3 separate regions of the Homo sapiens genome follow, and regions 1 and 3 are each linked to region 2. Evidence: promoter capture Hi-C in 16 types of primary human blood cells and fetal thymus (Javierre and others, 2016). All regions are on one chromosome and are shown on one strand. Each heading gives the region's core, a stretch centred on a gene start or on the middle of the fragment in contact. The rest is flanking DNA. Distances are from core to core; before and after follow the strand shown. Region 1 overlaps PHIP (PHIP subunit of CUL4-Ring ligase complex). Region 2 holds the start of IBTK (inhibitor of Bruton tyrosine kinase). Region 3 overlaps HMGN3-AS1 (HMGN3 antisense RNA 1).

What was found. Contacts are between HindIII fragments. The CHiCAGO score rates a contact against its expected background, and 5 or more counts as called.
Region 1: a contact is called between a fragment that was not itself captured here and the fragment with the promoter of IBTK in region 2, in 2 of 17 cell types (activated CD4 T cells and fetal thymus). The highest score is 8.3, in activated CD4 T cells.
Region 3: a contact is called between a fragment that was not itself captured here and the fragment with the promoter of IBTK in region 2, in 2 of 17 cell types (activated CD4 T cells and total B cells). The highest score is 6.5, in activated CD4 T cells.

The regions. Positions count from the first base shown.
Region 1 is chr6:79,072,235-79,075,236 of GRCh38, forward strand. The region is part of intron 4 of PHIP (PHIP subunit of CUL4-Ring ligase complex); the gene reads right to left. It overlaps LOC124901346 (a long non-coding RNA gene), which reads left to right. Exons shown (of 2, transcript XR_007059652.1): 2 at 1-3,002. Among named protein-coding and RNA genes, the nearest start is that of PHIP, 4.5 kb to the right of the region's middle. The HindIII fragment of the contact is 533 bases long and covers 1,156-1,688 here.
Region 2 is chr6:82,246,115-82,248,993 of GRCh38, forward strand. It overlaps IBTK (inhibitor of Bruton tyrosine kinase), which reads right to left and starts at 1,630. Exons shown (of 29, transcript NM_015525.4): 1 at 1,448-1,630. RefSeq lists a silencer at 1,263-1,432. The HindIII fragment of the contact is 2,262 bases long and covers 525-2,786 here.
Region 3 is chr6:79,236,236-79,239,101 of GRCh38, forward strand. It overlaps HMGN3-AS1 (HMGN3 antisense RNA 1), which reads left to right. Exons shown (of 2, transcript NR_040671.1): 2 at 1-565. Among named protein-coding and RNA genes, the nearest start is that of HMGN3, 3.0 kb to the left of the region's middle. The HindIII fragment of the contact is 1,879 bases long and covers 567-2,445 here.

The sequences.
Region 1 (3,002 bases), core at 172-2,671, 3.2 Mb before region 2:
TTACCCAAAGAAAAAAAGCTTTGCATATTCTCTAATCCATTCAGGATATGTCAACCACCCAAATTATTTCTTAATGTTCAGTGTTCCATAAAAACAAGTCACAGTAGAAATCAGTAGCACAATTTTTCCAGAGGTCTATCCACAATGCCTTAACCATGATTTATTTTTGGTATTAAACATTTTTCCTTTATTTTTTAGACCTGTTTCATCCTTGAGTCTATAAAGTAATTATAGTATCTTCCGAAGATTTTTTTTTTCTTTTCTTGAGACAGGGTATCACTGTGTCACCCACGCTGGAGGGCAGTGGCATGGGGCACAGCTTATTGCAGCTTCAACCTCCCTGGGCTCAGGCGATCCTCTCACCTCAGCCTTCGGGGTAATTGGGACTACAGGCATGCGCCACTACACCTGGCTAATTTTTTTTTTTAGTTTTTGTAGAGATGGGGTTTTCCATTTTGTCCAGGCTGGTCTCCAACTCATGGCCTCCCAAAGTACTGGGATTACAGGCATGAGCCACCACACCTGGACTCTTCTGAAGTTTTAATGTGGCCTTTTTATACTGCAGATTCTATGTTCAGAAAGTATATACATACTTGTGCCTGGAATAAAAATGTAAATGCTTTTCTTAAAGAAAACTTTATTATAAAGCTCTAAGCAGAACAACCTTTACTACCACTACTAAAGTTCTGATAATAGCAAACCAAAACCCTTACATAGTACTTGATTCATGCCAGTTATTACTCACAGACCACACAAAGTAGAAGCTATTATTAGCCCATTTTACAGAATGGAAAACAGACTCCCTCAATACGATTCTGCCTCACAACAATCAAATAAAAACCATTATGGTTTGGGAAAGGGACATTCCAGCTCCCGCTTTATGCTCATGCCGCTTTACAACTATTTAAGAATATTAACAATATAGTAAGTATTGCATTTAAAAAGTTTGTAAATGCCTCAAATTTTAAAAAATGGTATAAGCATCAATAGAATAATTCTATATGTAAGAAAGAATGAAGAATGCTCCTTCAGCCTCTCAGCAACATATTCACACCTAACATTTTATTCATCATATAACCCTTCACGCCTAACATATTTTATTCATCATTATAACGACCATATGAGATTAAAGCTGTTTTAGAGACTACCACGCAAAGCTTCTATTTCATTGATACTCTACTAAAAAAGGAAATAGTAACTCTACTACAACTACACACATTTACTTTATTACATGTTCACCCAACCCCAAAAAATTATAATAATCAAGTGTTGAAACTATGTTATCTTCAATATAGAATGGGAATCCCTACTTCTAAAACATTTAATATGATATCTTTTTTTTTTCCCTGAAAGTTGTCTCTAGGTTTTATACCTTAACTTTCACATTAATCAGCACACACTAAATAAATGTATACCTAAGATATATACTTAAATAAATCCTATCCATCATTCCTATTCATCTCTGAATTTGAGACCAACAATAATGAAAACTAGTACTTAAACTATGATGGAAATCATGGTAATTTTGGGGCATTTTACAACGTAGTTAGTGTCTCAAATCATCTTTGCAACAAGAAATGATATTACCACCAAAGAATGGCACTATGAAAAGCATTTATATAATTTTGTAACCTATGTGATTTCTACTTTTCTGTGTTTTGGAAAACTAAGCTCTAAGAATGAAATAAAGCTTAGTTCTTAAATACAATGTACTGCTATTTCTAGTTCAAAATCACAGATTTTCAGATTGAAAAAATTTCAATCCACTTATTTTTCAAATGAGATAACTGGGACAAAGAGAAATTCCATGACTTGCCCAAGATTACCTACAGTTTAACTGTCAGCGGGGCTTAAAACCACAATCCACATCTCCTGACTCCCAATCCTTTCACTTAAAACAAACAAGCAAACAAACAAAAAAGATTTCTAATAAAGTGGAATAATTTTAAGAAAGGCAAGTATCACTATTTTACAAGGAAAAAATTAAATCATTTTAACAGATTGGCAAAACATGAACTAGTTCTTGGGGGGAAAAAAGAGAAGTCTTACAAGAAAAAATGTAATCAAGAGAGTGCCAAATTCGGTAAAATGCTTGAAAATTCTGCCTCTAGATCTCGTAAATATGCAATCATCATTAAGTGACAACTAGAAAGCAGACTTAATAAACTAACTAGATTCACTATTCAAACTAAGAAATAAACAAATGACAAAGCTTTCCTTTCGTCCAAAAAAAGTTTTTTATTCTACAGTTTAAGAATTCTGATACTTGGAAAAAGTGCCCCTTTTCTTTAAAATAAATCTCATATTTTAAAAAATGTAAAATCTAATTAAACGTATACCATAGTACCAAAAACAACTTTTAGCTTCCTATCCAATTCCATTTACTTTGTTAAAAATGTTTTAAATCTTAAGGTAGATGGTGATAATCAGTCATGTTTTATACCAGAGACAGAAACAACCATAAGATACGACCATTTCCTTTCTCAATCACACTTGAAATGAACGCATCAATTTTAACCTGCAAACTTTTAAAACTGCTCTTAAAATTCTACTTTCCTCTTGATTAAAATTCAACCATTGCGATTGTAACTAGACTAACTACAGATGATCAGTGACTATTTTTAAATTCACATCTACAAATATTACACCCCATTTTAAGCAGCAATAATTTGAGGTTTCCTAGAAATTTCAATGCGATGTGATATATGAGTTCTCCCATTTAAAATATTGCTCAGTTTATTAGTTAATACAACAAATCATTTCCAGGTAGAGTAGAAACTAATGACTCAACAAGTAATTTTCAAATCAATGTTAAATAAATTCAACTCGATATACAACAACGTAAAACTTTTTAAGTCAGAATAATTAAAATAGAAAATACTGTACAAGAGACTTTGCATGTGCTGACTTAGATATTAAACAGCGAGATCAACTATTGAACAAAAAAATCCAGTGTTCCAAATGTTTTTAGACCTAACTAAATCTCAACTAAAAAGGTAAAA
Region 2 (2,879 bases), core at 380-2,879:
GATCCCACCTATTCTATGCTACCAAACTGCTCTCCCAAAAGGCAGTTAGAAAAATTTCAATGCAAGTAGTATAGTGTAGTAGAAAAAAGTACCATGGAATTCAATTCAAAATAATTGAATTCAAAAGCAGTTTGGTAGGGCAGCTGGAGACTCAAGCGATTCTGCCTCAGCCTCCCGAGTAGCTGGGATTACAGGCACACATCACCATGCCTGGCTGATTTTTTTGTATTTTTGGTAGAGACGGGGTTTCACCAAGTTGGCCTCGAACTCCTGACCTCAAGTGATCCGCCCACCTTGGCCTCCCAGACTGCTGGGATTACAGGCATCTTTTTTTTTTTTTTTTTTTTTGAGATGGTGCCACACTCAGTCGCCCAGGATGGAGTGCAGCGGCGCGATCTCGGCTCACTGCAACCTCCACCTCCCGGGTTCAAGCAATTCTCAGCCTCCCCAGTAGCTGGGATTACAGGCGTGAGCCACCGCGCCCGGCCTAAAAAATTTCTTGAAGTAAACTCTGGTTTGACTAAAGCTTCTGCAAATATTTGCAAATGTAATTATTTTTAGAAACCAGTTTTGTCCTCATCTACCTTGCCTCAATTTCTAAAACAAATAAAAGTTAAGGAATTCAAAATACAAAAAGAGAAATGATCAAGAGGGGGCTGGCAAGCCTGTGAATTTACACCACTTTATGGGCACTGAAACACTACTACTCATAAAAGTCATATCCTTTCAGTATTTCTGATAAATTTCAAATGGCCTACTTCGAGGCATAAGTTAAAAGGTGCTACATGAATCTCTGGCTAACACAGTCAAGTTTTATGAACTACGTTGGAAAACAGGAGTCAAGGACGGCCTATGTTACCTAATTCGCAGCTGAACTAAAACTCTTTGAGCCAGACAGCTCTGCCTGTTACAAAAACAAAGGGCCTGTCTTCTCTGTCTCTCTCAACCCTCCACCCTCCAAAAAGAATCAGTTCCTTTTTACATAGCAATCAATGTCCACTTATCAGATTTCACGACCTGCTTCCCCAGAGTCAGTATCCCCAGGGTGGACTCAAACTTGTGACTCCAGGAAGGGGATAAGGAACATGAGCGCCCACAGGAATGGCTTCAAATCCAAGACTCGAAGGAAAGTGACACTACATAACTATCACAACTAGGAATGCAATGTCGCTGGAGGGCGTGTCCAGCAGGACGGGAGCGTAGCGCATCGCCGGGACAGGCCATTCATTAGCTGAGGGGGGCGGTAGGGACCCTGGCCACTCGGCCCTCTCCGCGCCGCCTCGCGCGAAGCCCGGCAGCCTCGGGGCCACAGAGTCCCCTCCCCACGGTCCCCCCGCGCCGCCGTCCGCAGCCACCCGCACCCTCCAGAAGGCGAATACTCTCCCCCTGCCCCCGGGCTGAAGGGAAGCCGCACCGCACGGTCGGGCAGCGCCAAGCCCTCCCTCACCAGTCGCTAGATGAAACTGCGCCGGTGGATTCCGCAGGGTCCACATAGAGCCACAAAGGGACTCATCCTCAGTGAAGGCAATAAGAGAAACCGAACGGCGCCAGAGGGGCCAGTCCCCAGACCCGGGTCAGTTCGGCAGGCGGCTGCAATACAGCCGCTACTACAGGAATCGGGAACGGGGATGTAGAGGAAGGGCCCGAGCGGGCGGTTCCCAGTAATAAGGCGGGCGCTGGTTGGCTGGGGCTCCTGTATGTCTCTTGATGATTGGCTGGTGCCTGCCCAGAAGGTTTCGCGTGGCAGCACCTCTGCCATGGCCTTTTCCCTGGCGCCCCAAAGGAACTTGACCTCGCCGGCCTTGGGGCCGCTGACTCAGGCCAGGGGCGGGGAAAAGAAAAAGGCCGCAGCGGGGAACTCTAGGCCAACAACGGTGATGGGAGTGTCCCTTTCAGGCCAGCCATCTCGTAGTTAGAAACGTCTCTCTAGGTAGCTGGAGACTCGCGGGGGAGGCTAAACCCGAGTGGAGAAGGAGACCTGGCAGGATGCCTTGGACACCCGGTCGCTACGCAGCAGAAGCCAAGTGCATAGGCGTCCTGCACAGAAGAGTTTCCTCCCATGGCCTTAGCAGTGGGGTTACTGCAAAGCCAAAGGTGTAGTCTCCGTAAACCCAGCCTCACCCCTCTCTGGATCTCCATACACCCGGATTATCTGGCAGTCACTCCCTTGGTCAGAAGGCGTCACTGCCCTCTTAGATCACCACCGTAGGACTAGCTGCCGACCCGGGTCACGCCACTCACTGCCTGACACCAGGCTTACACTAGGCTTTTTCCACTTGAACTCTGAATCTAAAGGCCATTTAGAAAGTGGTCAAGTGAAAAATGCTAGGAGGGACAGTAGCCAATAATCAATACTAGGTTACTGAATGGGAAACACACTGCTGCTGAATGCCTAATACGGTAAGCACTCAGTAAATGATTGTTCAAGGAGGTGTAGTGTGACTCAAAACAAACGACACTAAGAATCATGAGTTGGCTGTACAGCTCTGCCACGTTGAGTTTTACAAGCCACTGAGTCGACCTCATCTAATCTCTAAAAGAAAGGAGTTGCGCATGTCTTAATGCCCACTGAGCTCTGCTTGCTCTCTTTTGAAGCCTTTTTTGTGGGAGGGTAGGTTACTAGCCCAAAGCCACACAGCTGCTTAGCGAAAGAGAAAGGGAGACTAGGACCCAGCCCTCCTACTGCCCTTCCCAGCACATAATTGTTTCTTTGCTCTTTATTCTTAATGTCCTTCTACAAAACAAAAACCAGTTTGTAATGTCAAAATTGAGTGGTTTTGAAAATAAGCTTAAGTTGGCCGGGCGCGGTGGCTCACGCCTGTAATCCCAGCAATGTGGGAGGCCGAGGCGGGCGGATCACGAGGTCAGGAGATCGAGAC
Region 3 (2,866 bases), core at 256-2,755, 3.0 Mb before region 2:
ATTATTATTACCTTTTTAATGCTCCTATTACCACATCTTTAGCCAATGCATACCCTTTCAAATTAGTGCTTGTGTCCTTTTGACATGATCTTAATCATTTTTGATAGATTCCCTGTTCTTGGGCATTCAGTGAATGACAATAGTATACTGAAACGAATTAAGATAAAAACCAATTGCTTAGAGCTAGATAAAAATTTACAAGTTAATAATTTTATCATTAAAATAATATTTATAATGAAGATGTCTTTCAAGATATTAATTTGCCAAATACTTGATAGTTAAATAAAGAAAAAGTCAGTGAAAACATTTTTAGTAAGATATGTGTGAGAAGGATACTGAGTAGCACTTGCAATCTGGACTGGATGGCTATTTTTCTTCATGGAGATGGAAAGGTGCCACAACAAAGGTAGTGCTAAGGTGAATATTTCTCCTCTGTGATGAAAAATAACTCACAAAATTGGCTTCTTTGTTAATTTTTTTTCAAAACCAAACACTCAGATCATCAACAGCAAACAAAATTGTGAATGTTTTTACTGCACACAATAAAAATGCTACGATGAAATTGAAGCTTGCTTGTTGGATGAAGAAAGCTGATTGTGAGGACCTCGAGTTCTTGGAATCTTTAGTTCATTTACAAGTTATGAAAATAACAGCTTCGGTTGAAAAACAACAGCATTGCTTATCTTTCCTTTGATGTAGATTGCACCTGGCTGAGCACTACTCTAGGAAATGAAGTGTTCTCCCTTGTACCTTTAGTAGCCTTCAAGATCTGGGAAAGTCAGTGCAAACCTCTACTGGTGGCCCTGGAGGTAAGAAGAGTAGGCAAAGAGAATGATTTAGCAGGTAGCTAGAATTCTAGGTTAAGAGATAAAGACATCTGGGCAGAAATGAGGGTGTCACATAGAAGACAGTGAGGAGGTCAAGCTGGTAAGAAGTACAGACTCATTTGTTTATCAATATATTCCACTGAGCATTTCTACTACTTTGGAATATCAGCCTCTAAGACAGTAAAAGTAGGATGTATATACTATCTTAGCTAAGGTAGACCTGGATAAATTAACAGAGTTACTGACTGAGACAGAAAGAAAAAAAATAGTGAACAAACTTGTTTTCCAATTCCAGCTCCTCTCCTCTTTTGTCCTACTCAAAACTGTTGGAACTGTACACCTACTTCACATTTTTCAATCAGCAGGGCAAAACCATTTATAGTGTCATGACTATCATTAAGGAAAAGAAAGAGACAGAGACATTGACAGACACACACACGCAAACACACACACAGAGAGAGAGAGAGAGAGAGGGAGAAGGGAGAAGGGAAGGCTAAGAAAAGCAAAGAAAGGGCCAAGCATAGAAAATAGCAGAGTATATATGGTAAAGGTAAGTAATGTTTCATAAGATAATTGTTTCTATTTTCCATATGTGCTCATATAAACACATACACAACACAGATATGTATGTGTGTATGTTGGATTGTGACATGAAATATATTTTTAGTATGGTCTTGGTCAAAAAAATTGAATGCCACTGCTAATGAATGTTGTGGATCTTTGACATTCCGAAAAAAAAATGCTTAATATTAAAATTTTTTTTTTAGAGGTAAGATCTCATTCTGTTGCCCAGGCTGGCATGCAGTGGCACAATCATAGCTCACTGCACGTCAGACTGCTGGGCTGAAGAGATCCTCCTGCCTCAGCCTCCTGAGTAGTTATATAGGTGCAAGCCACCACACCAGGCTTGAGAGGAAGTTTTCAAGGGAAAGAATGACTTGCAGATCACCTCCTTCTTGAACTGTCCCTCTTTTCCTCTTTCAGGCAGACACAGGCAGGGTCCCTTAGGCTTTTGCTGTAAGTAATGACAAATTACTGGAGAAGTCAGATCCAGAATGTACATATTGTTGCTTTTGATAGTTGCAACTGTACACCTACTTTGCATTTTTCAGACAGCAGGGCAAAACAAATGATAGTCATGACTATCATTAAGGCAAAGAAAGAGACAGAGACATTGGCAGACAGACACACACACACACACACACACACACAGAGAGAGAGAGAGAGAGAGACAGACAGAGGGAGAAAGGAAGAAAGGGGAAAAGTGAAAATGATACTGTGTTGCTTCTGATAGTTTGTAATTCCAGATTAAGTTACTAATCTTCCATAAATAGGTCAAAAAATACACAGTGAAGAATTCAGGTGTGTAACAAAACAACATCAAAAACAACAAATAAGAGGTGGCAAAAGAATATTTTGTTTGTATTTTCCAGTCAAGTCTCTACTTTGATTGGGTGCTAACTTTTGAAGAGACCAAGGTTAGTTTTTACAAAGCAACAATAAGAGTCCAAGAACTAACGGTCCCAAATCAAATGAGCTGCCTGATATTAGTGCAGATCCCTAGGCCCCAGTCCCAAGGTATTGAATGGCTAGGCTTGGAAATCTGCATTTTCAAACAAGCTTTTCATGTGTTGCTTACACTATAATTCGGGGACTAGAGTATTTAATAGACTAGGCCCTTGCTCTCAACAAATATTTGCTGAATGCCGGTACTTGGATTCTGATGACAGGTATCTATAAAAGCCTGTGGAGTTCTCAACATACTTCCAGAGCAGGAGCGTAATTCTGTGGGTGAAACTCGCCCCACAGTCCTCACCTCATGCTTTTGCTCCATCTCAGTTTTGCTGGGCACAACCTGTTTATTTCACTTTCTTTCTCTTCTGTAGTTGCAAGGAACCTGAAGAGTGATTAAAAACTGCACACATCCAGATACCTAGAAAAGTGTCTTCTTCTTCCCAGGCAGCCCCTCTAGGCAGCTCCTTGGGCCCCTGGGAGATGAAAATCCCTGATCCCAAATCCTCAAAGGGAACTTACCTTGG